Regions from separate parts of the Homo sapiens genome. Here region 2 is linked to region 1. Evidence: promoter capture Hi-C in human tissues and cell types (Jung and others, 2019). All regions are on one chromosome and are shown on one strand. Each heading gives the region's core, a stretch centred on a gene start or on the middle of the fragment in contact. The rest is flanking DNA. Distances are from core to core; before and after follow the strand shown.

Region 1 (7,355 bases), core at 3,346-5,845:
CTCCATCTAGAGAGCAGAAACCCATGGAAGAATCGTCAGTGGTGCATCAGGCAGCTGGAATTGAAGCCTGAGTCTGTTTCTTCCAGCTCAGAAGCCCCTGCGAACTGTGTACCCTCCCAGCACTTCCTGTTCTTCTCTAGTAATATGAGCAAACAATTGATGCGGCATTTACCATGTGCTAGACACCATCACCCCCAAGACAACCCTCCAAAGTAGATACTCTGTTGCATTGAGGAAATTGAGGCACAGTGGCATTATGTAACTTGCCCATGGTGGAGCTGAATTGGAACCCAGCATCTGCTCCCGGGCTTGACTTAAGTTCTGCCTTCTGTATAATGGGCACAACAACGCCCTCTCTTAAGGTTGTTTTTGGATCAAATGATAAACCCTGACAAACTACCTTGTGCAGAAGCTGGTATACAGTAAGTCCTTGATAAATGCCGGTACTGCTCTCCAACAGCCTTCCTGTAAGCATGCTGAGGTCGCTGTGCCTAAATCTCTCCCTTAGCCGCAGGATGGTCAGCACAGCTGTTCACCACAGGCTCAGGGACTGCATCCCGGATAGCTCTTGTGGTTGTTTATCCTGCCATTGGCCTTCCACCTCCCAGGGCCTCATAAACAGCCCCCGTGTGACCACCGGGCCAAGCACAAGGCAAGTGGCCATGGGACCAAAAGTCACATCACAAGTTGGTGGCAGGTCTAAAACCTACACAGCATCACTCCTGACACTACGATCTGTGACTCAAGGTGAGGTCAGCAGACCAGCAGTGACAATGCCCAGAAACTTTTAGAAATGCAAAATTGCAGGCTCCACCACAACCTCCTAAACACGAAAGCCCGGGCCCATGAATGATGGAGAGGCAGTGCTCTCTGACACCACAGAGTCAGGAAACCAATCAAATTTGACTTCAAGTCCTTCCACAAACTTAAGAGAGGCGTTGCGGGAGCCTAAGGCAGCCAGCCCTCCTCTCCCACTACTGGCCCTGAGTGCAGGCCCTTCCCCAGTAGGGAAAAGCTAAGCCTCTTTACCAAGTTCCCAGCTGCAGTGCCCCTTCCCACTGCCCAGGATAACCATCTTCTCTGCCCAGTTCCTCATCCGTCAGCTCTCTCACCTGTTGCTCTCAGCAGTCTGAGGAGGAGGGTCTCATACTGAAGTCCTGAGCTGAGACATCTGTAAGACGGGATATGCTGCAGGGGACAGAGGAGAAGGGCCAGGTGGAGGGAGGCTGCCTGATAGCAGAGCCTACCCAGACCACGGCACAGGGGCTGCGGTGGGAGGGCAGGCCGTGCCTAGGCCGTGGCCACACTGGGCCTGGGAGCACAGTCATATGAACAGGCCCACAGCCTGAAGCCCTTCTGTGCACTGGCAGACACCATGGGAGGCTGGCAAAGCCCTGTCATGTGGAGCACAGAAGACAAGACGCAGCCCTGGGAACTGTGTGTCTCTGCTCTTGATGTTGGCATACCAGAGATAGCATTGCTGGGTGTGGGCGGGAAACCCAGCAGTCACCCCCACCCTACCTGCCCCCAGTCAGGAACACAAATCAAGCAGTTCCAAACAGCTTACCTTCGTCTCACCTGCTCTATTCGATCTCGCATGATGTCCTCTGTCATCTCACTTGGCACTTGGAAGATACGAGTGTGGCTGCAAAAGGCCATTCGTACATTGGCATATGGGATCTGAGTTTCTTTCTTAACAGGCATAGAGAGCTGCTAGAGATGGGATCCTGCAAACAATGACTCTTGCCCTGACACCATGAACTTTTGAGCTGGTCTCTCCCCCTTCTTGACTCATGAGCACAAAGCTTTTTTTTACTAACCAGGTACCCTTGAGCCCCCAGTAATGCTGAACAGGTAGCAGACTGTCCCGGGGAGAGCCAGGGACACAGAGCTGAGTGCCCTTACTAAAGGCAGCAAGCAGTGGTCTCGTGAGCCGTGGAATTCACCCTTCTGAATTCAGTCTTCTGAATTCCTCTCCTATCATCAGCTCTTGATGACCTGCATCACCCCACACCCACTGTGGTTCAGAGATGCTTCTAGGAAAGCCTACAGCGAGGAAGCTGTGGGGTCCCCTGGGGAGCCTCCTTGCTTTGTTTCATAAAGGGATATATATATTTCCTGACTATATACTTACTGAAATAAGAGGGGGACACCAAAACCAGTGGGTTGTGGGGGGAGATAGGCGGAGGCTTTTGGTTTAAAATCTTTGTAGAAAATCCAGAGTGGAAAAATTATATGTAAATAATTGACTGATTCCTGTAGCCTGTCTGAAAAGCTTAAAACTAGTTTTTTTATACAGACGAGATTTTTAAAATATTGGAAGATGATGTGTGTGTTATCCAAACCAAGGAGCACAATGTCCGCAATTCCATAGCACAACCACGTCAGGCACAGAAAAGCCTGGATTATAATCAACAACATTTATGATTTTAGGGGCCTCAGAAGGCTTCCCATCCAAAAAAACTCTTTCCCAGGGAGCTCTCAGATCCCACCATGTTATTCCTTTTGGTTATGAAATTACTGTGCATTTGAGTCTTCCTAAAAGGCAGATGCCACTAGAAGGGGTAAGCACATGGAAACCGTTTCTTGAGAAATGGAGCCTCCTTGATACAACAGATCAACATCGATGATGCGGCAGGGAAAGGAGGAAGAGAGGAGGAAGGGGAGAAGTCTCCTTCAGGTTCCCGTAGGACCAGTCTAAGCCCTCAGTCCCTCTCCTGGGAAGGGGTGGCTGATGTGCTCCAGAGACCCCCAGTGAACACAGGTGCAGGAAAGGAAATAGGAAAGCCTCTGTCTGAAGCATGATGGCTTCAGGCCAGCTCCCTGGGCCTCGGGGCTCAGCATCTGCAGAGCCACGAGAGGCAGTGGGGACGGCTGTGAGCTGGCAGGCACCCGGGACGCTGGCGAAGCCACCATAACCGAGTGCAGAATTCTAGCCTCGGGCGCTGGGAAGCCTCCCCACACCTCAGTTGCAGATGAAAACTTTGGCTTTTGCATTTTAAGAGCTTATTTTCTTTTAGCTCTTTAAAGTGCAGCCACTTCTGAGCAACTCAAGTGCAAAAATAACAGAAATCTGAAATGTATTCAGAAGCATTTAAGAAATGGAGTGCAAGCCCAGTTTTCCAACCCCTCAAGTCATTTAAAAATGTAGAAATGAGCTGGGCTTTCAAGATAGCAAGGATATTCCCTTAAGACCCCAAAGCAAGGCTGAGGAATTTGTCAGCCAAAGACGACATCTCTAGAGAAGAGCATCTGAGGGTTCGTGAAGAGAGGGGCTTGCGCATCTCTCCCTCCCCTTCCTTCGCCCAGGGCAAGTGGGACACCTTACCTCCATCTTATGAACTGGATTCGTGTTCTCTCCTCTAGGACCTCTTGGCTCTGGTTTGCCAACAAATCAGACTTAGAGAGGTGGTGCTTCACCTGGGAAATCCAGAGGGTCCATGTGATTCCTGCCCAGTGTGGCCCCCAACTGGGCTGGCACAGAGCCCAGACGAGCACCTCACCCTTGCCCAGAATCATTTACGGTGCACCTCCCACCTCTCCCCTCTCCCTCACCGCTACTCCCAGGCAAGGTCTCAAACTCTCATTTACCACATCTCTGGTCACGTGGATGTCCTGGCCATGGGTGGGAGGGGAGTCAGTGGACATCTTCTCCCTTACACCCTGGGAAGGGTGGTTGATGGACAGCTTTTCCTTTATGCCCCGAGAAGCCTCTTCTTCTGTCTGAAAGGTGAGAAATTCCCTCTGAAAATGTCACTCTGCATCCAACCCTGGGTCTTCTTCTCCTCTTCCTTTCCTTTTATTCATTCTCCATCACAACTCACACACCACATATTCACACACATACACTCCTTACCTCACTGTTCCCACAATAAGCTACTTCCCTGTAAAGTCCTCAGAACTCCCTAAGTCCCTGGCCCTATCCCAAGGTGTTCCTGAGACACCCTTGAGCTGGGAAGGATGCAGCTGAAACCCTTAAGCCAGGATGCTTGAGAAGCAGGACGGCGTTAGTGGTGGTGCTAACACATTTCCTGCCAGGACACAAGCCACAGTGTCCTCCAGCACATGTGAAGAAATTAGACTCAAATCTAGGAAGGGTGTCTGGCAATGAACTTGAGTTCCAGTTCCATGAAGAAGGAAGTCCAGATCCCCACACCCACTGAGACCACTTCTCTAGCATTTTGGATATCCTGAGTCATAAAGAAATCTTACTCACTTTTTTCAACCAATGATGTAGTACAGACACAGCCTCACTTTCCACAACGTCAATGTCCTGGAACAAATTGGCAAGTTGGTGACCTCAGAAAACCTAGAAATTCAGCTCTTCCCACCCAGCCCCCGCAACTGTTACTCAAATTTATTTGTAAGATCTCTATGAAGTGCAGCAGGGTCCCACAGGGGGAGAAGATATATGAAAAATTATTCCATGTGACTACCACCAAGCTGCTTACCGAACTGGTTATTGGTAGGAAGGGAAGCCCTACACCTTTCCGAGCAAGAATATACACAATCCATGTCGTAATTATCATCTTTGAATGTATACCAGGCCCCCTTCTTGGCTCCCTCCTTCCATTGAAGCTGCCTGAGAACTCCTATGGGACAGGAAGGTCATTGAAGGGAGGTGTCCACCTGATTGGCTGACCCATGGTGATGTGACAATGGCCTCCCTTTGAAAATGATGTATGTGAGTATAAATGCCGTTGCCAAGAGCCCCTGCATTTCAGGCTCTGGGTGCACTCCTATGAGTTACCCTGCTTCAAGGAGCAGAACCATTGAATAAAAGATTGCTGTCTAACACCATTGGCTGACCCTTGAATTCTTTTCTTGGGAAAGCACTAATTTGGGAGCTCACCTCCAGGCAGGAGGATGGGGTCTGGAGCCAGGAAACCTAAGGCCGATTTACACTGACTTCCTAGAACTAAATCAAAAGGAAAACCCCAACTTTCCGTGCCCAAGTAACAAAAAGACCAGAGGCTACGCCCTTTGCAACCCTCTCCTTTTCTGCATGGCAGATGAAAAACTGAAAGTATCTCTGATTGCTCCCCTCCCACAATCAGGCTGGTTGTGGGCCAGGTCTTCATTTGCATAGAGATATAACTTTATAACTTCACTTCAGCCTCTGATTGGTCACTTTCCGCAACCAATCAGACTGATCATGAGCCACTACTTCATTTACATAGGGTATATACCAAGTAACCAATGGGAAACCCCTAGAGGGTATTTAAACCCCAGAAAATTCTGTAACCAGTCTGCTCCCATCCTGTGGAGTGTACTTTTATTTTCGTTAAATCTCTGCCTTTGTTACTTCATTCTTTCCTTCGTTTGTGTGTTTTGTCCATTTCTTTGTTTAAGACGCCAAGAACCTGAACACCCTCCACCAGTAACAACCTGTCCCGCAACAACTTGTCATGTGCTCTTGACCTAATCATTAGTCCCTCTGGTCTGAGTTTCTTTGTCTTATACTGAAAGGGATAGAGTTGTGTCCCTAGCTTTCTTCTAACTCTAATATTCCAAAAATTTTCCCACGTTTATTCTTCTCAGGATTATAGAAAACCTTTTATCACTTTCTCCAATTCCCCTGATACAGCCACTACACGTCTTCCCTCTCAACAATTCGCCTCAATTTTATATCATCCCTGACATAGTCAGAATCGGCTAGGCTCTGCTGAGGACTGAGGCAACAAACCAACCTCCAAATCAAAATGTTTATTTCTCACTCTCAAAAGCTCTCGTGCAAGTTGGGTAATTTCAGAGCAATTGTGTGCCATGTGGAGACTCACAGGTCCACATTCAGAGGACACGACCTCCATGACTGCCAAAGCAGGGAAGAGAGCACAGAGAGGAATCAGGTCAGTGTTCCACCTTTCAGCTCAGAGGCTCCTACTTAGAGCTTTTGATCTAGAACTAGTCCTATGGCCCCTACCTAATTCCAAGGAAGACTGGAAATTGTAAAATAGCAGATGAAATTACCTGTCAACATCTCTGTTTCTACAGCTATCCCCTAAAATTTATGTTTTCATCCTTATTGATGTAATTTTATTTTTGAATATTTAAAATATTAATGTGATTCAGAAATCAAAACATGAACAGATACATTCAAGGACGTTCCATCTCTTCCCCATACCTTCAACCTTGTTCTAACTCACTTCAGAAGTAAAATTTTCATTAGTTTCTCGACGACATATCCTGTGCTTATGTTGTCAAAATGAAGCTCATACATAAATCTATTTGCTTTTTGATTACAATGTTATAAAATGCATACAGTAAAATGTACAAATATGCATACAGCGGAGAAAAATTTTTACACACACACACATACACACACACACACACACACACACACACTTACTTGTTTAACCACTGCCCAGATCAAGATAGAAAACATTTTTAGTAGGACATTTGTATTATATTTGATTTGATGCTGTTTAAAATCATGCTGCTATGAAAATTTTTATACTGTACCTATCTTTTGGTTGACATAAGCACTAAATCTTCTGAGTATATACCAAGGATTAGAGTTGCTAGGTCATAGACTTTAGATATGTGTAGCATTCATATACACCAAACAGTACTGCAAAGGGGTTGTATTAATCTACTGCCCATAAGCAATGTATGAAAGTGACAGTTACTCCACGTTTTTTCCAACACTTAGTATTGTCGCTCCTTTAAATTTAGCCAATCTAGTAGAGATGTAGTGGTAACTAATAATACTTTAATTTTCATTTAACCGATTATCAGTGGCATCATGCATGTTTTTATTTGCCTATTGGTCACTTTGGATATTCTTTTTTGTGAAGTGCCTCCTCGAGCTTTGTGCCCTTTCATTGAATTGTTGGTCTTTTTCTTATTGATTTGTAGATTTTTTAATGTATTGTAAATAGTAGTCCTTTATCAATATGTGTTTTGCAATTATTTTATCTCAATTTATGACTTGCCTTTCACTCTTTGAGTACTGTCTTCTGAGGAACAGAAACTCTTAATTTTTAGTCAGTTTTATTGTGATATATTTAAATAATATAAAATTTACCCATCATAATGTATAATTAAATAATTTTTAGTAGATTCAGAGAATTGTGCAACCATCACAACTATTCAATTATAGAACATATCCATCACTCCAGAAATGTTTGTCATGCCCATTTGCAGGCAACCTCGGCTTCCATTCTCAGCCCCACCAATCTGCTTTCTATCTCTAGAGATGTGCCTTTTCTGGACATTTCATACATATGGAACTATACCGTATTATGTCTTGCTTATTTCACCAAGCATGTTTGGGAGGGTCATCTACATACCTTGTAGCATGTGTCAGTAATTCACTCCTTTTTATTATGGGGTATTACCCCATAATACTATTC
Region 2 (7,449 bases), core at 1,851-4,350, 310 kb before region 1:
GCAAGGTGGCTAACATGCACCGTGGCTACTCTTCACACCAATCCCTTCCACAAAGTAGACACTGCAACACACACTTCACAGAAATGTCAGCTAGGGTTTCCCCAAGGCTCTGCAGAGCATTGGCAGAGCTGAGATTCACTCAGAGCTGGCTGACTCCAAAGGCCACATGCTTTCCATCCTCCCTCAAAGGTCTCTGATACGCTTACATGAAATCATTACAAGGTTTACTACATGATGTCAGCATCATACTTAAAAAAATTTTTTAAACCTTAAAGTAATATATTACATAGTTTATCAAGTTTTTAGTGTTAACTGCTTAAGATTGAAAACAGCATTCCAAATCCCACTCCGCGGGAGCAACAACTTCCATCTCTTTTAGCTATTTCTTCCGGTATTTGCTTCCTTTCTTTTAAAATTGTGCTTATATTTTTGGGAGGCCGAGGCGGGCAGATCACAAGGTTAAGAGATTGAGACCATCCTGGCCAACATGGTGAAACCCCGTCTCTACTAAAAATACAAAAATTAGCTGGGCATGGTGGCAGGTGCCCGTAGTCCCAGCTACCCGGGGGGCTGAGGCAGGGGAATCACTTGAACGTGGGAGGCAGAGGTTACAGTGAGCTGAGATCGCACCACTGCACTCCAGCCCGGTGAAAGATTGAAAAAAAAAAAAAAGTGCTTATTCTTCCACTTCTTCATTTAACAATTTTTAAAATGATTTACTGACTACCTACCACAGGAGATGAGGATTCAACCTTGTTCCCTGCTAACCTTGCACCTCTCCTCCCTTTTTTTTTTTTTTTTTTCAGATGGAGTTTCACTCTTATCACCCAGGCTGCAGTGCAGTGGCGCAATCTTGGCTCACTGCAACCTCTGCCTCCCGAGTTCAAGAGATTCTCCTGCCTCAGCCTCTTGAGTAGCTGGGATTACAGGCACCTGCCACCACGCCTGGGTAATTTTTGTATTTTTTAGTAGAGATGGGGTTTTGCCATGTTCACCAGGCTTGTCTTGAACTCCTGACCTCAGGTGATCCGCCCGCCTCGGCCTCCCAAAGCGCTGGGATTAGAGACATGAGCCACCGTACCCGGCCCCCTTTTTAAATATAAATAATTTCACAGTGTTTAATTATATCAATATGCAGTTGTTTAATTATATCAATATGCAGTATTGACATTTTTTATTATTGTCTTTCTTATGCAACTGTTTGCTTTTCCTGGAGATAATATTTGCCTTTTTGTTTAATTTGCTTAATTTTTTATAGACCTATCATTGACTCTCCCCAAACTTTCTGCAGAACTCTAAAATTTGTCTCATTATTGTTGAATCAATTGAGTAATCTCTCAATGTCTTGTATTAAAGGCATTCCCCAGAGTCATTCATCCCCCTGAACCTCAGGTGTCATCTGGGACTTCCCTTTACCAAGAGAATACAACAGCCTGTGCTTCTCCCTTGTTTCTGGAGGCAGGTTTTCTTTCCTCTCGGTGTCTTTCCTTGTATTAATGCAACTCATCTTTGTATAGATTGCTGAGAAAGCATACTTAGGTGGTTATCTGCATACTGGAAAATGGCTTTATTCTTACCTCACTCAACATGTATAGCTAGTTAAGCTGCACATAGAATGCTGGGTTGAGAATGAGTATCCACTTCAAATTTTGAAGTCATTTCTCTATGTTCTTCTAAGTTTAAGCATTTTTGTTGAAAAGTCTGATGAATATCAATTTATGTATCTTTGTATGTGAGACAGCTTTATTTTGTCTCAGTAAATACTTAGGGTATTCTCTTTATTCATGGCTTTCCAAAATTTTGTAAAGATCTTTCTTAGGCCAGGTGTGGTGGCTCACACCTGTAATCCCAGCACTTTGGGAGGCCAAGGCGGGCGGATCACGAGGTCAGGAGATCGAGACCATCCCGGCTAAAACGGTGAAACCCAGTCTCTACTAAAAATACAAAAAAATTAGCCGGGCGTGGTGGCGGGTGCCTGTAGTCCCAGCTACTTGGGAGGCTGAGGCAGGAGAATGGCGTGAACCCGGGAGGCGGAGCTTGCAGTGAGCCGAGATGGCGCCACTGCACTCCAGCCTGGGTGACAAAGTGAGACTCCCTCTCAAAAAATAAAAAAAAAAGATCTTTCTTAATGTGGATCTGTTTCCTTTCATTGTGACAGGCACTCAATAAACTCTCTTAGTGTGAAAATGTTCATGTCCTTTAACTCTGGGAATTTTGAATTTTTTTCACATTGTGGCTTCAAAATGTTTCTCTTCTCTATTTTATTTGTTCTTATTTGTGGAGGTCCTATTAAAAGGACATTAGAGTACCTGGATTGGTTTCCATCTATTTTCTCTCTTTTTCATCAAGATGCCCTTGACTTTAATTTCTCCTAGTGAATTTTGTTAATTATACTATCAAACTATTAATTTCAAATGGTCTTCTTTGTTGTCTTTTTTTAAAAAATAGTTCCCTATTCTTGTTTCACGTTCACAATATCTTCTAACATCTCTCTGAGGATATTAATTAAGGCTTCTGAGATTTCCTTTTGCTGCCTGCAAAATCTCCATTTCCTCAGATAACGTATTTTTTTTCCCTCAGTTGTGTTGTCTTTGGCTTTTATGCGGAAAAGCTTCCTCAACTGTCTGGTGATCTTTGGTCTTCCTTTTATATTCAAGAGAAAAGCAACAAAAGACTAACTTGCATTATTGACTGGCAGATCCTTTAAAGATTATCAGGCAAGGAGCTGGCCTTGGGGCCCCTTCCCGCAAAGTGTCAGCAGTTGTAGGTCCTTTTTTTTGTCCTTAAGCCAGACAAATTTCCCCACAGAGGAGCCCTTCATTCTCTTCCCAGGGGAGTAAAATCCTGGCTTCTCTCATTCTAGAAGAAGGCTCAGTGGGTTTCACCATTCAGGATGGAGACTCTCAACCTCTTTGTTTTTAATAGAGGGCCTCAACTCTCTCCTGTGGTTGAGACTGGAGCCTCTCTTCTTCAATTCCTTCCAAAAATTAACTTTCCATTCATGCTATAGTGGGAGGATCAGGGAATTCTGGGGATGAGAAGTGTATGACACAGACTTTCAACCAATCCTTTACTTTCAGCCCTCCCCATTTGTGTCTTCCAAGGTATCCTGTACCTCTCATTCCCAGGCCTGGGTCCAACAGTCTAAGTCTATCTGTCATGTCACCCTGCAGACCCTTAAATGTCCTTTCTTCACTAAATCAGTTGCCACTGATTGTTGTTTTTTTTTTTTTTTTCTGAAGAAAACATCCATCACACCTCCAATTTTTTTTCTATTTTTTGTTTGTCCTTGGGATTTGTACCTTTTTAACCCTTTGTTATCATGTCTGTGAGATTAGCGAAGACACTGGAGATCAGCCCTCCATAACTGACTGCATACAAGTTCATGCACTTAGTAGCCATGAAGCAGGAAAGATGACAGACAGAACTGTGACCACACCTGGAATAGCAAGCTCTGCTTCCAATAGAAAGCAAAGTCCTGCACAAACAGGAGTCACTGAAATATGAGTGACTACTGCTGAAGTGTGCGTCAAACATGCACTTTCATGAAGTCATTTATTTGCTTCACCCCCGTGTGAAGGAGCACAGAAGGAACAAATTAGCCCCACTTCGCAGATAGAAAAATAAGGAGGAACTGAGATGAAAAGATCTGACCCAAATCCTAGCAAATCAAGGATTAAGCCAGGACCGGCATACATATATCCTGATACTTAGGCCTTTCCTACCAGCCAGCCCCGACAATGAATGCTCCTTTCAAACACTGTTGCTGTCACTAATCACATAAGCATTGCCTTAGCTCACACACAGCCCAAACACTGGCTAGATGTGCTGGAGACAGTGCAATAACCAAGCTCGCCTCATCACAAGCCTTCTATTTAGATATGCCTGATCCCACTTTAACTAAGTATTGAAGAAAATGGCACCAGATTTTCACCTTCGTATGCAAGTTTTCCCCCAGAACGTCTCTCAAGCAAGAACTGAAATAGCCTATGTAAGGGGGAAAAAGTCATTAGCCCTTTTCCAAAGTGAAGAGCAGGAATGCGGAAGGACGCCCACCCACAAGTAAGTGTCAGGCAGGGCCAGCACTCCCAGACTCCTGCCCGGAGCGCCACCCTCTGTCTTGTGGCTGACTTTGGTTTTCCCTTTCTCTCTCCTCCCTTTTGCTTTCCCCGCCCATTTCCTGTCCTCCTTTTCTCCCTGTGTGGAGGGGCCTCTCCCTACTCTTCTCTGAATGAAAAGGCTACTCTTCTCTCCTTGACATCTTGTTAGGCTGTGAATACACATCTATTGATTTGCATTTGGTGGAAGAAAAAGAGGGAAGGCGGGGAGGGGGTGAAGAAAAAGAAAAACACACAGTCACACATTCCCTAACTTCATGGCTTCCAGGAGGACATGTTCAAGCAAGGCGGAGAATTTTAACTGCATCTCCTTCTGCCTCCAACCCCTCCAGCCACTCCATCACACCAGCTACTGCCTAGGTTCCACCTAGCCCGGGCCCACGCTCGCTCGGAGGAGGTGGCTGGCACCGAGGGAGCCACTCAGGCTTCCTCCCTCCTGCATGTCTGTGCTCACAGATTGCTGACACTGACCCTTTGTGTGAGGCTACAGTCCAAAATAAGTTTTCTTGCAGGATAGGGGCTCAGGAGAGTCAGGAGACTTTGTTGTTAGCAAAGGCTGGCCCCAGAGACTAAGTGACAATGACTTCCATGGTTGTGCTAGCTGTTTGTGCCAATGTAAAAATAAAGCCCAAGTCATTAAGAAGCATACAACTAGGAATCATACACCTCGGTTACAACTGAGGTTCTAACGCTTTCTAGCCATGAGGTACTTAACTCCACATTCTTCTCTTCCCAGAGACCAACATTTAGTGCACAGGGAATGCACACTTTTTTTTTTAAGGATTTACACCCAAAATTAATTCCAAAGCTGCACAGAGATGCAGGACAAGCTTTTCCTTGTCCCTGGCATCTTTGGGGGCCGGGAGCTAATTCTCTATGTAGCAAAAGTGGCCAAGGAATCAAAGGGTTTATTACTTCAACTCAATATGCATCTTTCTATGGCAAAAACTAAGTCAGCATCTAATCTAGGACCATTTTAGCTTATTTTCAAGTAATATTTACTAAGCATTCAATCAGTAACCATTACTGAGCATCCATTGTGCGCAAAGAGAAGCTGAGTGTGCACAGAAGCTTGAGCCCTGCAGAAGGCAGAGATGGCCCTGATGCAGTGTTCCACGGTCCCTGGAGAAAGGAGGGAGGCAGCCAAATGACCAGCAAAAAAGCCTTTGGAAAGTAGGAATGCCCCTGCACGTGGCCATATCATCGTTGCGGTAGTGGATATGACATTCTCTAGGCACAGCCACATCTGCGTATTTCACGAAGAATGCACTATTAGCCAAAGATAGTGGTGCCATTTAAATGAAATCAGCCTGCACAGTATTTTAAATAATCCCGGTTTTGGTTCAGTCCACATGCGCACCTTTTAAAATGGAAACACTGGACCGAGCAGTAATGACAGAGAAAAAAACAAACTCCAGCTACATGTATTTGGACTGGAAATTGTGGAGAGCTCAAGATTGAAATGAATCTGATTGCCCTCCCAGACTTACCTTACACAAAACCGCAGCACTTATGTGAAGATGCCCTCCTGCAAAATTAGATTCTTCAAGCTTCACTAGGTACCTGTGTTTGACACACTTGCTTCTGTTTTCAATATTTCCTTGAAGGATGTAAGAGCCTCTGAGGCCTCCAAAGTTCAGTTAAACCAAAGACCTGCGAGTTAGGATGTTAACCTAAAGATGCCCCTGCTCAGAAGTCTATACTATTGAACTGCAATTCTCACGAGGGGAAGTGGTGAAGAAAGCCTTTTTGCTCTTTTGCTTTTTTGCTGAGGGGGGGCATGCTGGGTACTCCCTGGAATGAACAATGCTCTCCCAAATCTTTATCCTGCCTGGAACACAGATGCTGATACAAAATGAGAACTCAGAGCCTGAGGAGCAGGTTACCTGGACTTTGTTCTGGTAGAGCTTGGAGCAGGGTTTTGAATGGACTTGTGTTCCTTCTGTTACCTTTAACATAAACTACATGGGTCTCTCATTACTTCCACCACCAACAAAGATTTTGAATTTGCCCGTGGTCCTAGGAACCCTGGAGCAAGGAGGATGATTAAATCAACAAGTTTCAGTGACCCTCGGCCTCCTTTCCAGGCAACTCTCTTGTTGCCTGACATTAATATTTCCAGAGCCTACTTAACTGCATATATTTTTATCCAAAATGTGTGGCTAGAGAAAATAACTTCATTAATATGGTGGCAAAATACTAAAACAAAAGGTCAGGGGGTGACACACACACAAAATCGCCTCTGGACAGTGTCTCCGTGTCCCCAAGAAGCTACACTGAACACCTGAGACCCACTTAGGAACTCACCAACTGTGAGGACCATGCATCTCTTAGGAACTACCTGCCATGACAGCTCAGCCCTGAGACCCACTAAGACAAGAGTCCTGAAAGGTTCCAGCGTGCTCAGAGGAGAGTGTACCCATAGGTTCCACAGCACCATGGGCCTTTATTTACACAGCACCCTTTCCCCAGCACCAACCTAAAGCATTTTTTTTTTTTTTGAGATAGGGCCTCACTCTGTCACCCAGGCTGAAGTGCAGTGGTGCAATTATATCTTATAGCAGCCTCAAAACTCCTGGGTTCAAGCAATGCTCCTGCCTCAGTCTTCAAAAGCATTGGGATTACACGCGTGAGCCACCACATTCGACCCATGACAGCATTTTAAGGTGGAAATTAGCTCATGGAGCCTTTGCCAGGATCTGCAGGTGCCAAGGGTTCGGAGCTGAGGAATACAGAGCCAGAAATGGCAAACAGCGGTAGGTCCAGCCGTGCCAAAGGGCACACTTGTCACTACATCTTCCAGGCCAAGATTTTGGCCATGACATTGGAGCATCAAGAACTCATGGCTCCTGCACTCTGATCTCTGATAGCAAAGAGGAAATATTTCTTCCCTGACACTTTCATTAAGGCTTTAGTAACCTCCCCAACCACCTCCCATGGAAGGAGGCTCACAACCCACATTCACAGCTTTCAGTGTCTATCCTCTGGAACAGCATATGCCAGCAGTGGCAAACTGGCAGCCTGGGAGCTGGATTTGACCCCAGGACACGTATTCTATATCCAGCAGTATTTTTAGATAAAGTATGTTGCCAACAAGTCGTCATCCAGATTTTTAGGTTTTCTTGAAAAATCAGATGACTTAATCAAGCTGATTCTTCATTCCATCTAATAAAAATCGTCTGGAATTCTAGCTGCTCTTCTAGGCAAAGAAGCTCCTCTGTGCTACTGCAGCCCCAGGGCCCACTTCATTCATATATACAACCCACCCTCCCAGGCCTCCCCTGCACCTAGAGTGTAGTGTGTCTCTCTCTCTCTCTCTCTCTCTCTCTCT

Evidence for each region. The method cuts DNA at HindIII sites, captures the fragments that hold promoters and counts their contacts. A contact is called where the count stands out against the background at its distance.
Region 2: a contact is called between a fragment that was not itself captured here and the fragment with the promoter of SPATA19 in region 1, in 1 of the 25 tissues and cell types used here (dorsolateral prefrontal cortex).

What each region holds. Positions count from the first base shown.
Region 1 is chr11:133,840,918-133,848,272 of GRCh38, forward strand. SPATA19 (spermatogenesis associated 19) reads right to left here and starts at 4,596. Exons shown (of 7, transcript NM_174927.3): 1 at 4,452-4,596; 2 at 4,217-4,273; 3 at 3,592-3,723; 4 at 3,329-3,420; 5 at 1,568-1,645; 6 at 1,113-1,188; 7 at 1-6. The coding sequence starts at 4,529. The coding sequence ends at 1,122. RefSeq lists an enhancer at 1,284-1,826. The HindIII fragment of the contact is 7,724 bases long and covers 2,041-7,355 here.
Region 2 is chr11:133,537,407-133,544,855 of GRCh38, forward strand. No RefSeq gene overlaps it. Among named protein-coding and RNA genes, the nearest start is that of OPCML, 8.6 kb to the left of the region's middle. RefSeq lists enhancers at 3,764-4,335, 4,008-4,302. The HindIII fragment of the contact is 3,936 bases long and covers 1,133-5,068 here.